2 separate regions of the Homo sapiens genome follow, and region 1 is linked to region 2. Evidence: promoter capture Hi-C in human tissues and cell types (Jung and others, 2019). All regions are on one chromosome and are shown on one strand. The core of a region is centred on a gene start or on the middle of the fragment in contact, and the rest is flanking DNA. Distances in the headings are between cores, read along the strand shown. Region 1 has its middle 25 kb from the start of FBXW12. Region 2 holds the start of SPINK8 (serine peptidase inhibitor Kazal type 8 (putative)).

What was found. The method cuts DNA at HindIII sites, captures the fragments that hold promoters and counts their contacts. A contact is called where the count stands out against the background at its distance.
Region 1: a contact is called between a fragment that was not itself captured here and the fragment with the promoter of SPINK8 in region 2, in 1 of the 25 tissues and cell types used here (IMR-90 fibroblasts).

Annotation. Positions count from the first base shown.
Region 1 is chr3:48,395,231-48,400,064 of GRCh38, reverse strand. No RefSeq gene overlaps it. Among named protein-coding and RNA genes, the nearest start is that of FBXW12, 25 kb to the right of the region's middle. The HindIII fragment of the contact is 3,860 bases long and covers 1,036-4,834 here.
Region 2 is chr3:48,331,222-48,335,726 of GRCh38, reverse strand. SPINK8 (serine peptidase inhibitor Kazal type 8 (putative)) reads left to right here and starts at 2,066. Exons shown (of 8, transcript NM_001080525.3): 1 at 2,066-2,192; 2 at 3,256-3,361. RefSeq lists a silencer at 1,521-1,721. The HindIII fragment of the contact is 10,965 bases long and covers 1-4,505 here.

The sequences.
Region 1 (4,834 bases), core at 1,716-4,215, 63 kb before region 2:
GCCAGGAGCTGCATGCTGGCTGACGCTGCAGGTGCCTGGGAACCTGCTAACCTGGCCCCTCCACCCATGCTGGTGAGTTGGTGCTGCTGGGGCACCTGCTGCCCTAGTGAATGGGTGCCACCAGGAAGAGAGGATTCAAGCCTGTCTTGCTCAAGACCTCCTCCACCACCAGACTTGCCTCAAGATCTCAGGCCCAAGAAGCCCCAGGGAGTGGAGTGACAGGAGCCTTGCTCTGGGAGGCAGGAGACCTGGATTCTAGTTCCTCCTCCTCTCACTGACTGGGCCTCTGGAGAGAAGGGCAGGGACATTCTGGCATGTGGCAGGAGCCACTCTGTGTCATGGGGTTGGATCCCAAGCTGGCACCTGGCAGGATTTAATGAAGAAACATTTATCAAGTGCTGGATCAGTCCAGCTCCTGGCAGGAAACTGACAGCATGTACCAGGAAAGATGCAGCTGGAAGAGAGTTTAATGAGGGGACTACTTACAGAGCTGCAGGCTCTGGGAAGCCAATAAGGGATGGTGAAGCACAGCTGTTACCAGTCCTGGGCTCTAGGGGTAGGGACAGAGTAGTCATCAGGACCAGTGGGGCTGTGGCTAAAGGTGGAAGCTTCAGAGGGAGGATGCTGGGGGAATAATTACCCTGGCCTCTTGTTCCTCCCCACTGCCCAGACTCCTGCCAGCCCGTCCCGTTGGCCAAGCCACCTGAAAGCCAGAGGGCAGGGGAGCCTGAATGGCAGGGCAGCCTCTGGACTGCTGAGTGGTGAAGAAGTGGGCAGAAAACTGCCTCTGGCCTGAGGACCTGCTGTCCTGGGAGGCACCTAGCAGGTGCTTTGTCATTCAAGGCCACAAGGTCACGGCCATAGCAGTACTTGGTTTCCAGCCCCCTGGCTTGCAGAATTTTCCACCGCACTCCATGCCCTAGTGCTCCTTGGGCGGTGCTGCACTGTCCACCTGAAGGACCTTGGAAACACCAAATTTTGGGGGCTGACTGGGCCTCTTCACCTTATCTCCAGGTTGGGTGGGATGCTGGGTGTGCAAATAGGGACCCAAGGAAGACTCCACACTACAGGCTGTGTCTACAGCTTCATCTCAGGGCAGAAGTCAGCAGGGCCAGGCACAGACCCATCCGGAGCTGGGGGAGGGGCAGGACGCCTGGTTCTCTACACCCAAAGAAATGTGTGTGGGGCACTCCCAAGCCCCCACGCAGAGACAAACCCTCGCGCCTGCGCCCAGCCCAGGTTGCTGACTGGAGTGGAGGCAGCAGAACTCTGTGTGTGTGTGTGTCTGTGTGTTTGATGTATATGTTTGAAGTGTGTGTGTAGCATTGGGGACAGGCAGAGGCTCTGCTCAATGGGGAATGATGTTCTGGTGGAACACCCCATGGACTTGGAGCTTGAGAAGTGGGCTTTGGCCAGGCCCTGGCACTGACCACCTAGGAACAGTCATCTTTTCCAAGCTTCTGGTTCCTCTTCTGTAAGGTGTGAGTCCCTAACCACCTTTCCAAAGACAGCATCCTGTGCAAGCTGTCACGGGAGGGGGAAGGGCCCTGGTGACCCTCAGGGCCTCTAGAGCCTGTGGGCAAGAGCTGGCCCTCCATGCCAAGGTGCCAGGCCTAACCCTGGTGAAGAGTGACCCAACTGGGCGACTGCCTGAGGCCTCAGAGGAGGACAAGGAGAAGGTGCACAGCAGCAGGGTGCACACCTTGCCCTGGCCTCTCCTAGGGTAGAGGACGGTGTGAGCCCCCAGAGGCTGTCATCCAGCCTGAGAGGTTTCTTGGCTCTTCCTCCCATGCCCAGGGTTCTCCCAGACTGCAGAGCAAGATCCAGGCTCCACACAATGCCAGAGGCCCTGCCTCTATCTTCTCTCTGGCCAGCGGCCCTATCGCTAACCCCACACATGAAGGATACTGCTTTGGCATCATCGTTTGTGAGGGCCAGGCTGGGGAAGGGTGGAGAGAGTGTCCTTCCCTGGGGAGGCTGAACCCAGGGAGATGGAGTGACATGCCCCAAAAACACAGCAAGTGGGACTAGAACCCATGTCTCCAGATGGAACCCCAGGCTCCCACTGCTCCATGCTGTGCAGGTTACACCTCCCACCCTGCCGCTCTCTCCGGGGGCCTCAGTCCACCTCCTGAGCCCATGTCCTCAGTCCATGATTGGACCGGGTCCCTGGGTCCCTTGGAGGACCAGCCAAGCCCAGGTCCTTCTTTGCTTCTTACTCCCCACCCCAGTCTCCTTGTTCTTCAGTCTTTTGCTTTCCCACTGGCTCCCTTCTCACACCTCCCATGGCTGTGCCCATTTCTCCTTTTAACTCTGTCAACTTTTGGATCCTATATTTGAAGCAAGGCATGCATATATATTTTAAATTTTATTATCTCTGTTTTGATCTTTTTGTCATAAAAAATTCGTTTTTATTTCTAATAATACTTCCTGCCTTAAAGTCTACATTTCCTGTTTGAATGATGTTCAGTGTCCATTGTGTAAATTCTCATGTGGTAATTTCCTTTAAGAAATTATTGAGGGGCCAGGCACAGTGGCACATGCCTGTAATCCCAGCACTTTGAGAGGCTGTGGTGGGATAATTTCTTGAGCCCAGGAGTTCGAGACCAGCCTGGGAAGCATGGCAAAACCCTGTCTCTACAAAAAAAAAAACAAAAATTAGCCAGGGGTGTTGGTGCATACCTGTAATCCCAGTTACTCAGGAGGCTGAGGTGGGAGGATCACATGAGCCTGGGAGGTTGAGGCTGCAGTGAGTCAAGATTGCACCACTGCACTCCAGCTTGGGTGACAGAGTGAGACCCTGTCTCGAAGAAAAAGAAATTATTGAGGGCAGGGTGGTGGCACACGCCTGTAATCCCAGCACTTTGGGAGGCTGAGGCAGGAGGATTGCTTGAGCTCAGGAGGTTGAAGCTACAATGAGATGTGTTTGCACCACTGCACTCCAGCTTGGGTGACAGAGTGAGACCCTGTCTCAAGAAAAAAAGGAGAAGCTACTGAATTGCAGTAAAACCGTGTGCTTCTATGAGGGGATAAAGTATTTACTTGTGGCTGGGCACGGTGGCTCACGCCTGTAATCCCAACACTTCGGGAGGCCGAGGCGGGAGGATCACCTGAGGTCAGGAGTTCGAGACCAGCCTCAACATGGAGAAACCCCGTCTCTACTAAAAATACAATTAGCCAGGCGTGGTGGTGCATGCCTGTAATCCCAGCTACTCGGGAGGCTGAGGCAGGAGAATTGCTTGAACCCAGGAGGCGGAGGTTGCGGTGAGCCAAGATCGTGCCATTGCACTCCAGCCTGGGCAACAAGAGCGAAACTCCATCTCAAAAAAAAAAAAAAAAGCACTTACTCGTAACCCAGGAAAATATATTAGTTTCCAGATTAACATATTTTGCTGCTTTTCAAATTATGGTTTCTAAATATTTCATTTTTTTCTCCTTTTTAAGTTTATGCCAAAATAATCTGAGGTATTGCTAATCTTTCAAATGTGAGATTTCCAACAATCACAAAGGAAAATATTAATTCTCCTGAAAGCAGCATTTTGGTAATGGTATTATATAAACTTATTTGAATTATTTTATCTCCCTTTTTTTCTGATACAGAGTTTCGCTCTTGTGGCCCAGGCTGGAGTGCGATGGCGCAATCTCAGGTCACTGCAGTCTCCGCCTTCTGGGTTCAAGCGATTCTCCTGCCTCAACCTCCCGAGTAGCTGGGATTACAGGCGCCTGCCACCATGCCCGGCTAATTTTGGTATTTTTAGTAGATACTGGGTTTCACCATGTTGGCCAGGCTGGCCTTGAACTCCTGATTTCAGGTGATACGCCAACCTCGGTCTCTCAAAGTGCTGGGATTACAGGCATGAGCCACCACACCTGGCCTCTTATTGAGTTTTGAGAGCTCTTTATATATTTGGGATACAGATCTGTAGGGGTTTGAGGGATCTGGGAGCTGATCAAAGAAAAAGATGCGACCATGGGAGGCAGCAAACTTTACTGAGTGGGGCTTGAGTAGGGTTGTGTGAGAGGGAAGTTCCTCATAGCATGAGACTGTCTAGAGGCTTGAGGTGCAGGAGCCACCATCCAGAAGGGGAGGAGAGCAAGGGAACACTTGGAGAGGAGATGGGAGTGGGGACCTTTGTGTCTAGGTGATGTTGCTCAGCAGCAGGGGCGTGGGAGCAGATGGGAATCTTTGGGTCAGAGAGCTCTGAATGGCTGTAGCAGCCTAGGCTGTTATAACCAGAAGGCACTATCTTACCAAAGGGCAATAGCCGTCAGATGAGGTCTGTGGGGAGGGATGGGATGGGAGAGCCACAGACTGGAGAGCCAATTCATCTACTTAAAAAGAAAAAAACTGTGCCCCAAATTATAATAGTTCCTTTATTAAACCTTCCTCAAATTACCTTAATTTGTATGTGTCATCTTTATCATCCTGGGACCTTGACTGATATAAACCCCAAATGTGACTTTGGTTATGGTTAGGAATTCTCTGAAGATAATTGTTTCTCTGTCTTGATTTCACCCATCTCTGAAGCTGAGGGAGGTAGCTGTTCATCCTTCTCTAACGAATAGATTTTCCCTCAGTTTACCTACAAGGAGTATTACTTTTCTGAGGGTCCCGGATCTTGTAGATTTCTGATCTCACCACCAATTTGGTGGAGGCCTGTATTTCATCATGTAGCCTTTGGAATTCTATGAAATAAGACATTAACTTCAGCATTTGTTGAATTTTCTGGATTTTTTTCATTCTCCAATTTTGGAAGTTTCTATTCTATTCCAGCCATCTAACCATGGATTTTTTTAGTTTTGCTTTGTGTTTGCAGTTTTGAACAATGCTGAG
Region 2 (4,505 bases), core at 817-3,316:
CGTACAGGTATTCTCCAAAGTGGTGAGTAATATTGAACCACTTTAGCTTGCTATCCTGTCCTATCCTTCCTTAGAATCAGAGGAAATACCGGGCACCTGTCAGCCAGTTAAAAATGATTAGCATGGCCACTGGACTTAAGACTCAGCTGTGAGGCTTTCTGGGAAAAGGCTTTCTAACAACCCCCAACCCTTTGGGGTTAGGAGCGTTGGTCTGCCTGGAACCAGCTTCCGCTTTCACAATTTCCTGGGGGGAAGCCGAGGGCCGACTAGAGGCAGAAAGCTGTCGTCCTGAACTCCCGGCATTGGCTGGTTGAGATCATGGTGCAGCCAGAAGTCTCTACTCAACAGTTGCCCACGTGTGCACCCCTACCTTTCCTTCTGACCCATACCTCCTGGGTCCCGACCATGACTTTCTTGAAAGTGTAGCCCCAAAAATTCTCCTTACCTCTGAATCTACTTCCTCCAATCCCTGCCTCCTAGGTACTAATGCTTCAGACTTTCATTTCCTCTCCCAAGTATTAGAGCAAGTTGTATCTCCAAAGAGATCTAAGGAAGCTCTATGCTGTGGCCTTAGATATCTAGGCTATGAACCCAGGGAGTCTTGCCCCTGGTGTCCCTCCCAATTTAGGTATATAGCTGTCAACATGGGCTGTTATGTGGGACCCATTCCCCACCACCCTTGCCAGGGCCCCAAGTTTGTAAATAGCTAGGAAGATCGCTCTCCCATTGTGTAAGATGCTCTCCTCCCCTAATTTCTACCCAGTTTACTACCCCCTGCAATACAATCTCCAAGCCTTGGCTCCTTGGCCAGGCCCTTAGAACTGATAACCCAGTATTTTAACAACTGGAACTGAGTCTACAACAACATAATAGATCAGGATGAAAACGAATTTGAGTAAATTAAAGGGAGGCACATGTTCCTATAGTGGCAAACTGGGGCAACAAGTGAACGTCCTTCCACTGCGTTTCCAAAATCCATCTAAAAAAAGACAGACAGAGAGAGGAAGAGGCAGAAAGTCAAAGAGAGAAAGAAAGAAAAAAGGGAAAGAGAGAGGTAGTAAAGAAAAAACAGTGTACCCTATTCCTTTAAAAGCCAAGGTAAATTTAGAACCTATAATTGATAATTAAAGGTCTTCTCCACGACCCTATAATACTCCAATACTACCTTGTTGTCAGTGTAAACAAGGGCGTAGCCCGAAAACACTGAGACCACTGACAACCCATAGCCTTCCTATCAAAAATCCTGAACCCAGTAACCCGTGGATGGCCCAAATGCATTCAATCTGTAGTGGCAACTGCTTTGCTAACAGAATAAAGTAGAAAAATAACCTTTAGAGGAAACCTCATTGTGAGCACACCTCACCAGTTCAGAACAATCCTAAGACCAAAAAAAAAAAAAAAAAAAGGTAGCTTACTAGCTCAAAATTCTTAAAGTATGGGGCTATTCTGTTAGAAAAAGGTGATTTAACACCAACCACTGATAATTCCCTTAACCCAGCAGATTTCCTAACAGGGGATTTAAATCTTAATTGCCATGCAAAGGTCCAACCAGACCTAGGAGGAACTTCCTTTAGGATAGGACGATAGATGGTTCCTCCCAGGCGATTGAGGAAAAAACCACAATGGGTATTCAGTAATTGATAAGGAAACTCTTGTGGAAGCAGAGTTAGGAGAATTGCCTCATAATTGGTCTGCACAAACTGCGAGCTGTTTGCACTCAGCCAAGCCTTAAAGTACTTACAAAAAGAGCAAGCCCATCTTTTTCTCCTCGCTCTCCTTCTCGTAGGAAAAAGGCACATAGGATAAACAGGAGCCATCTCTCATATTTCGTACCCAAAAGGACTTAATCCAGGGCAACAAAATCTTAAGTTCGATAATTAAGGCATATTCCTACAAAGGAAAAGGACAAAGGCCCTAGTGGGCAAAAACTCTATCTCAATCCTGACTCAAAAGGTTACCTACACCCTCTCTGAAACGAATTTGCATAAGAACTGTTGTTTATGAAAATGCATCTTGATGGGGCAACTGGGTTGTTATGAAATACTCAGAAACCCAGCCCAGCTCTAGAACTCACTCCTGAGTGCAAAGGCAATGTCAGGCACGCTGGTAAAGGACCACTAGAATCCAGCAGCCCAGACCCCTTTCTTTGTGGTCAAGAAGGGCAGGAAAACAGGTGCAGGACTGCTACATCGGTGAGTGTAACTAATCTGATAAGCAGAGGTCCGTGGGTGGTTACGCACCCTGAAAAGGAATAAGCATTAGGACCACAGAGGACGCTCTAGGACTAATGCTCATCAGAAAATGACTAGGGGTGCTGGCATCCCTATGTTCTTTTTAAACGTTCCCCCCTCCCAGGCAAAAACGCCCCTAAGATGTATTCTAGAGAATTAGGACCAATTTGACCCTCAGATGCTAAGAAAGAAACGACTTATATTCTTCTGCAGTACCCCTGGCCACAATATCCTCTTCAAGAGGGAGAAACATGCCCTCCAAGGGAAGTATAAATTATAACACCATCTTACAGCTAGACTTCTTTTGTAGAAAATAGGGCAAATGGAGCGAAGTGCCATATGTGCAAACTTTCTTTTCATTAAGAGACAACTCACAATTATGTTAAAAGTGTGATTTATGCCCTACAGGAAGCCCTCAGAATCTACCCCCCTGCCCCGGCGTTCCCCCGGCTCCTTCCCCAACTAATAATGACCCCCCTTCAACACAAACGGTGCCAAAGGAGATAGAGAAAGGGGTAAACAATGAACCAAAGAGTGCCAATATTCCCAGATTATGCCCCCTTGAAGTGGTGGGAGGAGGAGAATTCAGCCCAGAGTGTGTGTACCTTTTTCCCTCTCAGACTTGAAGCAAATTAAAATAGACCTAGGTAAATTCTCAAATAACCCTGATGGCTATATTGATGTTTTACAAGGGTTAGGACAATCCTTTGATCTGACATGGAGAGACATAATGTTACTGCTAGATCAGATACTAACCCCAAATGAGAGAAGTGCCGCTATAACTGCAGCCCAAGAGTTTGGCAATCTCTGGTATCTCAGTCAGGTCAATGATAGGATGACAACAGAGGAAAGAGAACGATTCCCCACAGGCCAGCAGGCAGTTCCCAGTGTAGACCCTCAATGGGACGCAGAATCAGAATGTGGAGATTGGTGCCGCAGACATTTGCTAACTTGCATGCTAGAAGGACTAAGAAAAACTAGGAAGAAGCCTATGAATTATTCAATGATGCCCACTATAACACAGGGAAAGGAAGAAAATCCTACTGCCTTTCTGGAGAGACTAAGGGAGGCATTGAGGAAGCATACCTCTCTGTCATCTGGATCTATTGAAGGCCAACTAATCTTAAAGGGTAAGTTTATCACTCAGCTGCAGACATTAGAAAAAAACTTCAAAATCCGCCTTAGGCCTGGAACAAAACTTAAACTAAGAACTTGGCCTCAGTTTTTATAATAGAGATCAGAAGGAGCAGGCAGAACTGGACAAACGGGATAAAAAGAAGGCCACCGCTTTAGTCATGGCCTTCAGGCAAGTGGACTTTGGAGGCTCTGGAAAAGTGAAAGGCTGGGCAAATCGAATGCCTAATAGGGATTTGATTCCAGTGCGGTCTACAAGGACACTTTAAAAAAGATTGTCCGAATAGAAATAAGCCACCCCCTCATCCATGCCCCTTATTTCAAGGGTATCACTGGAAGGCCCACTGCCCCAGGGGATGAAGGTCCTCTGAGTCAGAAGCCACTAACCAGATGATCCAGCAGCAGGACTGAGGGTGCCTGGGGCAAGCGCCAGCCCCTGGCATCACCCTCCCCAGGTATGCTTGACCACTGAGGGCCAGGAGGTTAACTGTCTGCTGGACACTAGCGCGGCCTTCTCAGTCTTACTCTCCTGTCCCAGACAACTGTCCTCCAGATCTGTCACTATCCGAGGGGTCCTAGGACAGGCAGTCACTAGATACTTCTCCCAGACACTAAGTTGTGACTAGGGAACTTTACCATTTTCACATACCTTTCTAATTATGCCTGAAAGCCCCATTCCCTTGTTAGGGAGAGACATTCTAGCAAAAACAGGGGCCATTATACACTAGAATTAGGAGAAGAAAAAAAGGTAAATATCTATACAGACTCTAAGTATGCTTACCTAGTCCTCCATGCCCACGCAGCAATATGGAGAGAAAGAGAATTCCTAACTTCTGAGGGAACACCTATCAAATATCAGGAAGCCATTAGAAGATTATCATTGGCTGTACAGAAACCTAAAGAGGTGGCAGTCTTACACTGCAGGAGTCATCAGAAAGGAAAGGAAAGGGAAATAGAAAGGGAACCGCCAAGCAGATATTGAAGCCAAAGAGCCACAAGGCAGGACCCTCCATTAGAAAGGCTTATAGAAGGACCCCCTAGTATAGGGTAATCCCCTCCGTGCCGCTATACTACCAGTAGCTCCCCTTACCAAGAGCTTCTATGGAGAATGCGGCTTCCCGGAAATATTGAAGCCCCATC